Linked DNA regions of Homo sapiens: regions 1, 3, 4 and 5 are each linked to region 2. The links are contacts of gene promoters, found by promoter capture Hi-C in blood cells and fetal thymus (Javierre and others, 2016). All regions are on one chromosome and are shown on one strand. The core of a region is centred on a gene start or on the middle of the fragment in contact, and the rest is flanking DNA. Distances in the headings are between cores, read along the strand shown. Region 1 overlaps HDAC8 (histone deacetylase 8). Region 2 holds the start of CITED1 (Cbp/p300 interacting transactivator with Glu/Asp rich carboxy-terminal domain 1). Region 3 overlaps HDAC8 (histone deacetylase 8). Region 4 overlaps HDAC8 (histone deacetylase 8). Region 5 overlaps HDAC8 (histone deacetylase 8).

Region 1 (2,700 bases), core at 97-2,596, 210 kb before region 2:
CAATTCATAAGGGAAGAACAGTCTTTTCCACAAATGGTACTAGGATCTACATGCAAAAGAATGAATTTCAATCCCTACCTCAAGCCATACATAAAAATGAATTCCAAATGGATCATAGGCCAAAATGTAAGAGCTAAAACTGTGAAAGTCTTACAAGAAAGCATAGGAGTAAGTCTTCATGACCTTGGGTGAGGCAAAGCTTTCTCAGATATGTCACAGAAAGTACAAAAAAAAAGAAAATATAGATAAATTGACCATCAAAACTAAAAGCTTTTGGGCTTCAAAGAAAGTGAGAAAAACATCAAGAAAGTGAAAATACAACCAATAGAATGGGAAAAAGCATTTGCAAATTATATTTCTGATCAGAGATGTGTCCAGAATATATAAATAATTCTTACAACTCAATGATGAAAAGACAAATAACCTAATTCAAATATAGGCAGAAGATTTGAATAGATGTTTATCCAAAAAAAAATATAAATGGCCAATAAGCACTTGAAAAGATGCTCAACATCATTAGTCATTAGAAAAATGCAAATTAAAACCACAATGAGATGCCACTTCACTAAGATGGCTAGAATCAAAAGGTCAGATAATAACAAATGTACATGAAGGCATGGAGAAATTAGAATCCTCATACATTGCTGGTGGGACTGTAGAATGGTGTAGCCACTTTGGAAAGCAGTTTGGCAGTTCCTCAAAAGCAAACCATATAACTGCAAATGCACGCCATTATCCATTAGAAGCTTCTGAGGAACAACAAGAAAGCCAGTGTGCCTGGAGCAAAGTGAGTAATTTGGACAGTGGCACAAGAGGACAGAGAAGTTGCCATAGGCCACATCATACAAGGCCTTATGGACCATGGGGCTTTGGATTTTATTCTAAATGCGACGGAATTTTAAGCAAGGAGTCTTTGTTCTTAGTAAGTTTATAATGTCCACTGTAATGAATGAGAAAAAGACAATTAGAAGAAGTGCTGAACATCCTTGAAGGCCCACCTGTGATGGGAACCATAAGTGTTTAATGTGTGTCTGCAGTTATAGTTTTGTGGGTTTTTTTCCAAAAGCACTTGGCTGTCCTAGCTTTGAAAGCAGAGAAAATGGCAGAAAGGGGTCAGATGCTAAGAGGAAACTAAACATGCTAAACTCGTAAGTACTCAGGCAGGTTCTTACAGAGAAAGATGGAATTTTCAGAAGCCCTTAAGAAAGGGAATGCTGTATTTCTACTTTTTGCCATCTTTTACTGCTTTGCTGTAAACAATTAGATGCAATTAACTTAGTGAAAAAAAAAAACAAGAATCAGAAGATTTAAATATGAGCCTCAGCTTTCCCGGTGACTGTGACACTACAGGTAAATTGCCAAAGTTGACAACCTTAAGAAAGCTAAAGAAGCTCTTTCTGGCTACTTGTTAAGTCACACCAAGAAATTAGCTTTATACCATTAAACTAAACTCATTAACCTTTCTTGGCAACAATTCTGTCTCGCAAATTTCCTGTCTTACTGTTAATAAATTTCTCCTGATGCAGTTTAGCCCATTCTGCCTGGTACTAATGATAGACTAAAAGATAGTTTACATCAGATCTCATCCCTTCTCTGCTCAGAACCCTCCAATGGCTTCTCATCTCACTGAAAGTAAAATCCAAACTCCTTGCAGTGGCCTACAAGCCCCTGTGATGTCCCATCAGACAGCTTCTTGTACCCCTGTCCTTCATTACCTGTGTTTCAGCCATACTGGCTGCCTTTCAGCTTCTCAGACCAGGGAAGTTTTTTCCTGCCTCAGACCTTTTGCAGTGCTAGTCCCTCTGCACTTTTAAAAAGTGATAGACCAGTGAACTTTTCATTAAGTATGTCCAAAAAGTCCTGAAGACTTCTCCATCTCAGTATGGATGAGTTTCTTTTCACCTTTTGGGTCTCTATTTAAATGCTACCTCCTCAGAGAAGCTTTCACTGGACTGACCTATCTAAGCCCTACACACCCCACTGCTCTATCACATTCCTGTGTGTTATCTTTGCAACATTGCTTGTCACAATAGGGCTGTTTTCTTATTTGGTTGTTTGCTTACCTATTTATCATCTGTTCCACATACTTCCCCCCCACCCCCCCCCCACACACACTGAAAGATCCTTGAGAATGAGGTATTATCTGTCCTGTTCATCATTATTCCCAGAGTGTAGAACAGAGTACTCAATACAAATTTGCATGTTGAGGGAGGAAGGAAGGGAAGGGGCTTCTTGTTATCCATGCCCTGCTGTTAAGTAAGCCCAGTTTTCCTCAAGATTATTTCTTAAATGTAGTATATATTCACAATGGAATATTATTCAGCCTTGAAAAAGAAGGAAGTCCTACCATTTGTGACAAGATGAATAAACCTGGAGGGCATTAGGCTAAATGAGCTAAATCAGTACCACGTGATTTCACTTATATGTGAAATCTAAAAAGGTCAGACTCAAAAACAGAGAAAAGAATGGCGGTTACCAGGGGTAGAGAAGGGGGAAATGGGGAGATGTTGGTCAGGGGATACAGTTTCAGGTACACAAGATGAATACGTTCTGGAAAGCTAATGTACAACAATGTGGCTATAATAATAACTTTATTGTATACTTGAAATCTGCCAAGAGAGTAGATCTTAAGTCTTCTCATCACAAAAAGTGGTAACTATCTGCAGTGATGGATATGTTAATTAGCTTGATTGTGGTGGT
Region 2 (2,700 bases), core at 82-2,581:
TCCGCGGTGACTGCACCAGCTCGAGCGCCTTTAAAGGGCCACAGACGCCAGCCGCTGCTATAAAAATGTGCCCGGCGGCAAAGCTGCAGAAGGGGCACCGCTGAGCTGCCGAGAGGAAGCTCGCTCTGCCCGGCTGCCCTCTTGTAGTCCGCCGGCGAGGGGCAGTTCTCGGTGAGGAGGAAGAGAGCAGCGGACGGCACAGCACCCGCGCGGGCCCTCCGTGAGTATCCAGTTCAGATTTTGCCACCAACTCGCCCACGAGCCAGGACATGTGCTAATAATGCCCTAAGCCGGTTATAAAGACGTGGAAATTGAGGGGAGAAAAAAAAAGGGAAAAAAAGGGTCTGTCCTTCCTGGGATTCCTAGCCGAGGCCAGTCTGCTGCCGTGTGCGTGTGCGTCAGGGCTCTCCGGGCGGCAATGGGGGCTTGAGAGCCGGGTCCCCAGCGCCGGGAAGGGAGCGCGGTGGCCGCCACCGCCACCGCCCCGGAGTCCGGCGCCGAAGCTGCGGGCGGGCGGGCGGGCACCAGCTCGGTCAGGGGCTGCTTGGCGCGGCACTGTGCGGTGCAGCGGCGGCGCGGCGCGGTGCGGGCTTTTCCCAGGCGCCCCGGGGTCGGGTGGCCAACGGCGCGGCCGCGGGCGCTGAGCGCGACCGGTTCGCGGTAGCGGTGGCGGCGGCGTGCGTGCCAGGGGCTGGGGGCTCCGCCGCCTCTCTTGCGGCTCACCGAGCTCCGCGCTTCCCTCTCTCCAGGGCAGGCGGCTTCTCAGAGGTAAGCCGGGCCGCCGGGCTGGGCGCCGGGCTGGGCGGCGGGGCCGAGGACTCCCGTGGAGCGGGTATGGGGAGTGGGCGGCCGCCAGGCGGGCCGGAGGGTTCTGGGGAGACTTGCTTTCTGTTGGAAAGCTGCTCTGCTGGGGGCGAGGGGCCGCCCGCCCGCCCGCCCGCCAGCGCTCGGGTTCGCTTGCCAGCGCGCCCCCCTGCCGGCCAGCGGGGCCGGGTGCCCGCTTCTCCCGGGGAGACGGCAGCACCTTTTCTCCCTGCGCCCGCGCTTTCTCCAGCTTGGCTTCCACCGACTTTGCTAATCTCCCGGACCGCATCTGGACGCTCTGGCTCCGGAGCTGCACAAAGCTCAGATTTACTTCGGGGAATTGAGGCAAGAGGGGGCTTTTCGGGCCGAGTTCAGCGGAATTGCGGGATGGAAGTTAGCGAATTTGGGCAACTTGCCTCTACTGCCCAGTCGACCTCAGCCCTCCCCTCCCCCGACACACGCCCACACACACACACCCACGCGCACACCCCTCTCCCTATAAACGCGGGCTGGCGAGCCGCGCGCCGAGTCCCTGCTTCGCAGAGCACCGGACTTGGAGTCAGAGAGACCTGGCTGCGAATCCCGGCTCCGCCACTTTCTAGCGCTGTGACCTTGGGCAAGTTACCGCACCTCTCCGAGCCTCTCTCACTCTTCTCCTAGCGGGGTTTTAGCACTGACCGCAGGCGGCTTGGCTAGGGGGTAGGCTCAGCCTGCTGCCGCGTCGGATGCTCAGCGGGCGCTCAGTAAGTGTTGATCAGGCGCGAGAGTGGCAGCAGCCGGCGCCGGAGTGCGGACTCGCCGCGGAGGCCGACACCCCGTGCCCCTTCCTGCCTGTCCATCCTGTCTCTAAGATCAGTTCCTGATACAGCACTTGCGGGAACGGACGCTCAGGGCCCCGGTGGCCTGGGTGCACGCGCCCGCCGTGCAAGGGATGCTCCCGGCCGCCCCCGGTTCCGCGGCTCCATCTGGGATGCGGCGAGGAGGGCAGCCGAGCTGTCCGCAAACAACGGGCCTTTAGTTTTCAGGTGGCGAAACTGACTGGTCTGGTTAGAGCGCGTCCAAGCCAAGCCGCAGTGCTGTTTGGATTTTTAAATTTCTCCTTCTGAGTGAGAAAATAGCAATCGAGATGGAACCATCCGGTTGGTGCCATTTTAACTTTTGGTCCCCCAACAGGTTAAAGATGAGGCCCCCACCTGCCTCTCCCTTCTCTTTTCCCTCTCCCCTTCCCACCCCTGTCTAGGCGGGAGGGGGCTGCTCGCCCAAGGGAAGGCCTGAAGCGAAGAGCGGGCAGCGGGACTGGGAACTGGTGGCCGGGGGGCCGCCAGGCATCAGCCGGCGAGAAGGCACTTGTTGCTCTAGGTTTCCCAGCCGCCTGTCGCAGCCGTTTCGCAGTGGTCAGCTCGCGGCTTGGAGAGCGGGCTGGGACGTTTCCGCGTTGCCAAGTTTTGCCCACGAACGGGCTAGAGGGTGGTGGAGGAGGGCAGAAAGCCGGGGAAGCAGAGCCAGGGATGCCGATGGAAATGCGATTGCTTCTTCAGACGCATTCAACAACACTTACTGAGCGCCTATTGAGCGCAGACCCAGGCTGGGGTCAGGGTGGGTGGTGGGTCAGTAATGGAAGGCAGAAGATCTGAATGGACACAGGGCCTCTTCTGGGGGAGCTCCCAGATTGAAGAGGGAGGCGCGGTAAAATGGTCTTCCCCCACGAACTGATATCAGAATAGAGAGAGTTTTTTTGCTCGTTCTCTCTTTTGATTTTTCTAATGTTTCTCTTTTGGTTTTGCTGTTGTTGCTGCTGCTCCTGTTGTTTTTTCTTCGTTTTGTACATTCGGGTACCAAGCGGCAAAAAGGAGAGGGAAGGCTGGATAGGAACAGGAAAAGATGGACAGGGCCCCC
Region 3 (2,700 bases), core at 134-2,633, 180 kb before region 2:
TATTGACTATATTGTCCCCAAAGTTGTCACATGGAAGTGAGAAACTTAATGGTTGCAAACAAATTAAAAAACACCATCCCTGGGACTTCTTGGAAAACTTTATCTCAGGGGATTGCAGAAAATCCCCCCCCCCAAAATAGAAACCATTTAACTATGCAAATGAACCACATGATCCACAGTATATGCAATCCATTGTATTTGTTTGTGTAAGTGCAACTTAGATTTTTGCCCAAAAAAGAATTGTTTAATCTCAAGGATTTAATTTGTAATTTTATAGATAGAAAACAAGGATAAATATTGCCAGAATTAACTTCTTAGGTTTTCAATTCCTAAAGTTTGTAAACATGCAGATTCTGTAAAACCACCTTTCCCTTCATTTTCAATGGAGAAAATCCTGACTTCCTACTTTAGAAAGTGAATAGTGTCCCCTGTCATTTTACAGAGGTCTTCTCATGGAATTACATCTTTTTCATGTGGTTGTTTTAGATGAGTATAGCTAAAAATTTTTAACATCATGCATTTTTAAACTATAGGCAAAATTTATACCACCTCTTGGTCCTTGTGGAAGGCCATATCTGCATAAAGGGTAGAGATTCTCCATCCATGCTAAGCTGTTCAACCAGTACCAGTTGAATAAAATGAGGACCAAGGGACATCACTAAAGGGCATTTAAGGGAAGTGTTTCCTTTCACTATTGACTTACTGTTAATATTTAAAGAAGAGATGTTTTAATTATGATAGGTTTTTCTTTCATTATAATAAGTCATCTAGAATTTATCTTCCACCTGGGACTCCAGGTTATCATTCAATTTTAGAAGCAGGTAGGGCTGGGCACAGGTGGCTCACAGCTGTAATCCCAGCACTTTGGGAGGCCAAGGTGAGCAGATTGATTGAGGCTAGGGGTTCAAGACCAGCCTGGCCAACATAATAAAACCCCGTCTCTACTAAAAGTACAAAAATTAGCTAGGTGTGGGATTATAGGTGCGCACCTATAATCCCAGCTACTTAGGAGGCTGAGGCAGGAGAATCACTTGAACCTGGGAGATAGAGGTTGCAGTGAGCTGAAATTGTGCCACTGTACTCTAGCTTGTATGACAGAGTGAGACTCTGTCTCAACAACAAAAAAAAAAGGAAGCAGGTAGATCTTCAGTGAAAGAGAGCCGAAAAAGTGTAATTTACTCCTTTAGGCCTGGTGATGTGGCAAAAGCAATGCATACACACACATATTCATAAATAACTATTTTAAGCGATACAAATTTTTTAAAATTCTCTTTCATTTGATGAGAAGGGATGAACCCTCTAGAAATTTGCATGTGAGAACAAGTAATTATTTAGCCTTCCATCTTCATCCCTGATATGGTCTAGCTTTGTGTCCCCACCCAAATCTCATCTTGAATTGTAATCCAAATTGTAATCCCCACGTTTTGGGGGAGGGAATCATGGGAGGTGATTAGATCATAGGGGCAATTCCCTCATGCTGTTCTCATGATAGTGAGTTCTCATGAGATCTGATAGTTTTATAAGGGGCTTTCCCCCCTTCACTCTGCCCTTCCTCCTGCCGCCATGTGAAGAAGGACATCTTTGCTTCCCCTTCTGCCATGATTGTAAGTTTCCTGAGGCTTCCCCAGCCCTGCAGAACCTCTATAAATTACCTAGTCTTTTTTTTTTTTACTTTAAGTTCTAGGATATATGTGCAGAACGTGCAGGTTTGTTACATAGTTATATATGTGCCATGGTGGTTTGCTGCACCTATCAACCCATCATCTAGGTTTTAAGCCCCATATGCATTAGGTATTTGTCCTAAGGCTCTCCCTCCCCTGGCTCCCCACCCCCTGACAAGCCCCAGTGTGTGAGTTTCCCCTCCCTGTGTCCATGTGTTCTCATTGTTCAGCTCTCACTTATGAGGAAGAACATGCAGTGTTTGGTTTTCTGTTCCAGTGTTAGTTTTCTGAGAATGATGGCTTCCAGCTTCATCCATGTCCCTGCAAAGGACATGAACTCTTTCATTTTTATGGCTGCATAGTATTCCATGGTATATATATGCCACATTTTCTTTATCCAGTCTATCATTGATGGGCATTTGGGTTGGTTCCAAGTCTGCTATTGTAAATAGTGCTGCAATAAACATACATGTGCATGTGTCTTTATAGTAGAATGACTTATATTCCTTTGGGTATATACCCAGTAATGGGATTGCTGGGTCAGATGGTATTTCTGGTAGATCCTTGAGGAATCGCAACACTGTCTTCCACAATGGTTGAACTAATTTACACTCCCACCAACAGTGTAAAAGCATTTCTACTTCTGCACAGCCTCACCAGCATCTGTTGTTTCCTGACTTTACAGCAGCATGAGCACAAGCTAATACATTCCCCATTTCATTACAATCTAAGAACTGATAAAAAATTCTTTACAAACTTATTCTACCTCTCTTCAGTTGGGTCACAGCTACACTACCTTGATAATCACTAGCTCACTGTCGCCCAGTGATTAAGGTAACAGAAGCTGCTAATTCATTCTATAAGCCTTGCACTTTGAACTCAGCCCTCTGTAAGTAAGGTATTTGTGTTAAATGCTTTTGTTCTATTTAATAAACTTTTATCCTGCCTCTCCGGGGTATGGCAGATGTAAAATTACCTGTTGTTCTGGAAAATGGATGACTCAGACACTAATTAAAGTTACTGTTAATATTAGCCACAG
Region 4 (2,700 bases), core at 7-2,506, 190 kb before region 2:
CTTTATACATCTGGTAGAATTTGGCTGTGAATCTATCAAGTGCCAGGCTTTTTTTAGTTGGTAAAGCTATTTATTACTGATTCAATTCTGGAGCTCATTATTGGTCTGTTTAGGGTATCAGTTTCTCCCTGGTTCAGTCTTAGGAGGGTGTATATGTCCAGGAATTTATCCATCTCTTCTGGGTTTTCTAGTTTGTGTGCATAGAGTGTTCATCATAGATTCTGCTGGTTATTTTTGCTTCTGTGGGGCCAGTGGTAACATTCCCTTCATCATTTCTAATTGTGTTTATTTGGATCTTCTTTCTTTTCTTCTTTATTAGTCTAGCTAGCGGCCTATCTTATTAATTTTTTCAAAAATCTAACTTTTGCATTCATCAATCTTTTGAAAGGTTTTTCATGTCTCAATTTCCTTCAGTTCAGCTCTGATTTTGCTTGTCTTATGCTAGCTTTGGGGTTGATTTGTTCTTGCTTCTCTAATTCAGTTGCAATGTTAAGTTATTAATTTGAGATCTTTCTACCTTTTTGATGTGGGCATTTAGTGCTAGGAGTTTCCCTCTTAACACTGCCTTAGCTGCTTCCCAGAGATTCTGGTGTATTGTATCTATTTTCTTATTAGTTTCAAATAACTTCTTGATTTTTGCCTTAATTTTATTATTTACTCAAAAGTTATTCAGGAGCATGTTGTTTAGTTTCCATGTAATTATTTTGTTGCATGGCTTTGAGTGATTTTCTCAGTCTTGACTTCTATTTTTACTGTGCTGTGTCCCAAGAGTGTATTTGGTGGTATGATTTCAGTTATTTTGCGCTTGCTAGGGATTGCTTTATGTCCAATTATGTGGTTGATTTTAGAGTAAGTGCTATGTGGCAATGAGAAGAGTGTATATTTTGTTGTTTTTGGGTGGAGAGTTCTGTAGAGGTCTATCAGATCCAGACAAAAATGTCTATATACATAATGATTAGCCCTTGTCTTAGTACATCTGTGTTCTTTTAAAGGAATACCTGAGTCTGGGTAATTTATAAAGAAAAGAGGTATTTGGCTTACAGCTCTTCAGTCTGTACAAGAAGCATGGTGCCAGTATCTGCTTCTGGTGAGGGCTTCAGGCTGCCTCCACTTATGACAGAAGGTAAAGGGAAGCCACATGTGCAAATCACATGGTGAGAGAGGAAGCAAGAGAGAGGGAGAAGGTGTCAGGCTCTTTTTAACAACCAGCTCCCAGGGGAACTCTAGCAGTAACTAATAGAGTGAGAACTCACTCATTACTGTGAGATCACAACCAAGCCATTTGTAAGGGATACACCCCCATGACCCAACACTTCCCACTAGGCCCCACCTCCAACACTGGGGATCAAATTTCAACATGAGGCTTGGAAGGCCAAATATCCAAACTGTAGAAATCCTATTTTCAAAGAAGAGAGGGTATTATATGTAATTTATAAAAATGCATGAACATCATCTTTATAGAGAAAAAAGACTCAGATATAACATATAATAATCCTGACATAATATATCATCAATATACCAAGCATATAGGTTGAATATACCCAGAATATATCAAGAACATCAAGTAAAGAGATTCAGTAATCTGGAATAGTTCTTAAACATGTGTATATTAACAGAATTTCATAGGTAAATGATGTGAATCCCCAGTTGAAAACTAATGACTGGAAAAATGCTAGATTCAAAACAAAGAAGCAATGTGGAGACCAAGTTAACATTTTAAAAAGCTGAAATTATTACTGAAAACACTATACTATAGTTATCTAATATCTAGCAAAGCAGCATCAGGATTCTGACATATCTCGGCCAGTGAGAGCACTAATGAATCTGTAGAAACGTTCCATACAGCATACAATTTCTAAAATGTTTATGCTAATAACATTTTCCTATACCAATTTAACCTAGAAAAAGCAAAGCATCTGTTCTGATTTGACAACTCTTCCCATGCAACTCCTCAATAGTAATATATTGAATAAATCTAATTCTTTCTAGCACTTCTCTTTCAATAAGGTGAAAGAACAAATCTTTTTTTTTTTTTTTTTTGCCATTTTAACAGTGAGGAAACCAAATTCTAGCTTTGCATCAGAATATTTGATACTAAAGTTCTTTTTGGAAATATTGTAAATCAACTCATCAAACCTTAGCCAGCCACCTCAACAAATAAAATTCCCTTTCTGTGATCCCTCTACAACTTTCTATATCTATATGCATCCTTTATAACAACTTCTTTAATTGGCAAAAAATAGCATGTTCATTACCAGGCCCAAGTATACATAACTTTTCTGCAGCATGTAGAAATAAGAAGCAAAAGCATACAAAATTATATGTAGTAATTAATATTTCAGCATTCTCTTACTTAGAAATGGTCTAGGTATGTAATGAATATTCATTAATTCAATTTAGTATCAGCTCAAAGTTTTTAGTTACCTAAAGATTTTATAAATTATCTTCAAGTTGATATACTGCAAAACATAATTACTGTTGAAATAAAGTTTGTCAGAATAACGACTCAACTTGGTTAAACAAATTTACATTTTTTATAATCGTAAACACTTAGGAGAAGTAATGTTAGCTCATTCAATCAGTAAACCTGTCTATGTTGAGGAAGAATATACTCAAGTAGAAAAAAAATCTACCTGTATATTATGCCCAACACTGATAAATCAGAAAAGACATGGCTGGTTTTAGTAAGCCAAAAATTAC
Region 5 (2,700 bases), core at 89-2,588, 150 kb before region 2:
TGGAGATGTGCATCAAATATAAAGGGGATACAAAGGAGTACATAAAATACCCTGCCCTCCATGAGCTGAAAATATAATCAAGAAATCTAGTAGGTGAAAAGGTCAAGATAATGCAGTGGTCAGTTGCAGCCGGGCTGACCTCACTCTCTTCGCTCTCAGTCTTGGGCTTTAGTTCTTTCATCTCCTAGGGTAATAATCCTCCTCCTCCAAATGCCCGTTCCCTACTTCTCTATTATCTTCCTAGGTCCAGCTTCAAGTCCTGTGCCCTTCAAAAACCCTTACCTAAATACATCAATCCCCTTTGAGCTCTTCCTTCACGTTCATTTATTCCTTGTTTCATTTAACAATTATGTGTTGGGCCCCTACTATTTGCCAGGCCTTATTGAGACCTGGATTCAGAGATACAAAGACTAATGAGATAATCCCAGTGCCCTCCAAAATCTCACGATCTAATAAAGGTGACAGAACAATGTGCTCACATCCAGGACAGATGAGGACCATAGGGGATATGTTTCAACAAGACTTTGAACTGACTCTTAGAGGCTGATTAGGAGTTCGCTAGGTGAAGAAGAAGAAAAAGGCATTCTAGGCAGAGGGAACAAAGATCAGAAAGGGACTGGTGCCTCATGGGACCAGTGAAAAATTTGCTATGTGTAGATTACAGGGTATATGAGAGACAGTAGGAAGGATTAAGGCTTGAATGGAAGTTAAGGCCAGATTATGAAGAGCCCTGAATGCTACATTAAAGAGCTTACACTTTTTTCTGTGAAAACAAATGAGCTTTAACTTTTAAAAAGCTCAGTTGGTAGAGATAGATTGCAAAGAGGAGAGACTTGAGAAACGCAGACCTGTTAAGAGATTCAAATATATACCTATAACACTTACAGTCTGTGCCATTCATTTGGTCATCATTGTTTTGGTTGTCTGCACCACGCCCCCAACCCTAGTGCTTAGCTGAGTGTTAAGTAGCCACCACCTAGTTGAATAAATGAGTGTTTGAGTAAGTGTCTCAATATTCATATTGGGAAACTTCTATTTTTTTAAGATGAAAGAATTGGAAGCGTAATCTAGCCTTTCTCTGGGAACCCAATTTAACCTTAATAGCAACTTTCCATCCTTTGCAAGAGGTATCAGGTAGCCCAGCTATAGGAAACAGGTGTATCCATGGGAGAACATTATATTACCAATGCAGGGAATGGAGTTCAGAAGGCAGAAGCCCAGCACAAATATTAGAAGTGATAAGGGTAGGACTTCAAGTATAGCGCTCATAAAATATAAAACCGGTGATACCATAAAGCCAGTGATGCCATAAGGCCAGTGATGGCATAAAGCCAGTGATGAGGAAGTTAGTTTCAGCCAGAGCACTGGGGAGCCAGGTTGGCCAGCCAAGCAGTCCCAGCTGGGAAAGCTGAGAAGAATGGAGCTTGTATGTATGATTGGCCCAGATATCTCTACCATAGGGAAAGCCCAAAGGTGTCATGGTACCATGAAAAGACCAGTACATGGCAAATTTAGCACAATCACATGGATTATTATGTATAAAAATGTTCTATAGTCCAGTACTACTATTTAGATCCCGTGACTTATCTAGGATAGAGTAGGGCTGGGGTGTGTGTGTGTGTGTGTGTATGTATATGTGTATCATCACATAGGTTTACTAATGGAAAATATTAACACTACTTAACCAGACTGCTTTTTATGGACTGATTAAACTGTACCTCATTCATATTAGGGAACATATGTAGCCATTAAAAAGAATTAGGTCAATTTATATACAAGTATATGTTACTAATAAAAAAACAGCCTTCTTGCACTGTAACCTGTAGATGGCACTGAATCTATAGATTGATTTGTGCAGGAGTAACATCATAACAATATTTAATCTTTTAAGCCATGAATTTATCTTTCTATTTACTTGAGTCTTCTTTAATTCCAAATTATAATCTGTACTCTCCAGTAAACACATCTTACACAAATATTATTGAATTTATCCCTAAGTACTGTATTTCATTATTTTGATCCTATGTAAATGGTATTTTCATTTCAATTTCCAATAGTTTGTTGCCAGAATATTGAAGGACAATTGACTTTTCATATTGATCTTGAATAATGTAACCTTGCTAAATTTACTTATTAGCTCTAGTAACTTTTTTGTAGATTGCTTAGCATAATCCATGTATGCAAACATCATCTGTGAATAAAGAGAATTTTCTTTCTGTATAATCTTCATGTCTTTTATTTCTTTTTCTCACCTTTTTCACTGGTTGGGACCTCCAGTGCAATGCTGAGTGGAAATGGTGTGTGAATATCTTTATCTGGTCCCCAGTCACAGGGGGAAAGTGCTTAATCTTCACTATGAAGTGTGATATTAGCTGTAGGATTTTTCAAAAATGTTCTTTTTTAGGTTGAGGAAGTTCCCTTCTATTCCTAATTTACTGAGACTTTTTTTTTTCTCACAAATGAGTACTGATTTTGTCAAATGTTTTTCTTCATCTATTGAAATGATCATATGGTATCCTCCTTTATTGTTAGTACAGTAAATTGCACTGATTTTTTAATGTTAAACTGACTTTGCATTCCTGGAATAAACCCTGCTTGGTCATGTTATATTATCCTTTTTATGTATTGCTGGATTCATTTTGCTGAAACTTGGTCAAGGTTTTTTTGTGTCTATGTTGATAAGGGATGTTGGCCTGTTGT

Evidence for each region. The method cuts DNA at HindIII sites, captures the fragments that hold promoters and counts their contacts. A CHiCAGO score of 5 or more calls a contact.
Region 1: a fragment that was not itself captured here is called in contact with the fragment with the promoter of CITED1 in region 2 in 5 of 17 cell types (megakaryocytes, endothelial precursors, M1 macrophages and 2 more); the score reaches 9.6 in megakaryocytes.
Region 3: a contact is called between a fragment that was not itself captured here and the fragment with the promoter of CITED1 in region 2, in 1 of 17 cell types (M1 macrophages). The highest score is 5.5, in M1 macrophages.
Region 4: a fragment that was not itself captured here is called in contact with the fragment with the promoter of CITED1 in region 2 in 1 of 17 cell types (megakaryocytes); the score reaches 5.8 in megakaryocytes.
Region 5: a fragment that was not itself captured here is called in contact with the fragment with the promoter of CITED1 in region 2 in 1 of 17 cell types (megakaryocytes); the score reaches 5.5 in megakaryocytes.

What each region holds. Positions count from the first base shown.
Region 1 is chrX:72,514,995-72,517,694 of GRCh38, reverse strand. The region is part of intron 4 of HDAC8 (histone deacetylase 8); the gene reads left to right. Among named protein-coding and RNA genes, the nearest start is that of HDAC8, 56 kb to the left of the region's middle. The HindIII fragment of the contact is 1,195 bases long and covers 749-1,943 here.
Region 2 is chrX:72,304,545-72,307,244 of GRCh38, reverse strand. CITED1 (Cbp/p300 interacting transactivator with Glu/Asp rich carboxy-terminal domain 1) reads left to right here and starts at 1,331. Exons shown (of 3, transcript NM_001144887.2): 1 at 1,331-1,420. LOC105373250 (a long non-coding RNA gene) reads right to left here and starts at 1,143. Exons shown (of 3, transcript XR_938441.2): 1 at 1,025-1,143. RefSeq lists an enhancer at 276-325 and a silencer at 52-346. The HindIII fragment of the contact is 8,247 bases long and covers 1-2,700 here.
Region 3 is chrX:72,480,036-72,482,735 of GRCh38, reverse strand. All of the region lies in intron 7 of HDAC8 (histone deacetylase 8), which reads left to right. Among named protein-coding and RNA genes, the nearest start is that of HDAC8, 91 kb to the left of the region's middle. The HindIII fragment of the contact is 7,840 bases long and covers 1-2,700 here.
Region 4 is chrX:72,497,507-72,500,206 of GRCh38, reverse strand. The region is part of intron 4 of HDAC8 (histone deacetylase 8); the gene reads left to right. Among named protein-coding and RNA genes, the nearest start is that of HDAC8, 74 kb to the left of the region's middle. The HindIII fragment of the contact is 4,771 bases long and covers 1-2,700 here.
Region 5 is chrX:72,456,922-72,459,621 of GRCh38, reverse strand. All of the region lies in intron 9 of HDAC8 (histone deacetylase 8), which reads left to right. Among named protein-coding and RNA genes, the nearest start is that of HDAC8, 110 kb to the left of the region's middle. The HindIII fragment of the contact is 5,146 bases long and covers 1-2,700 here.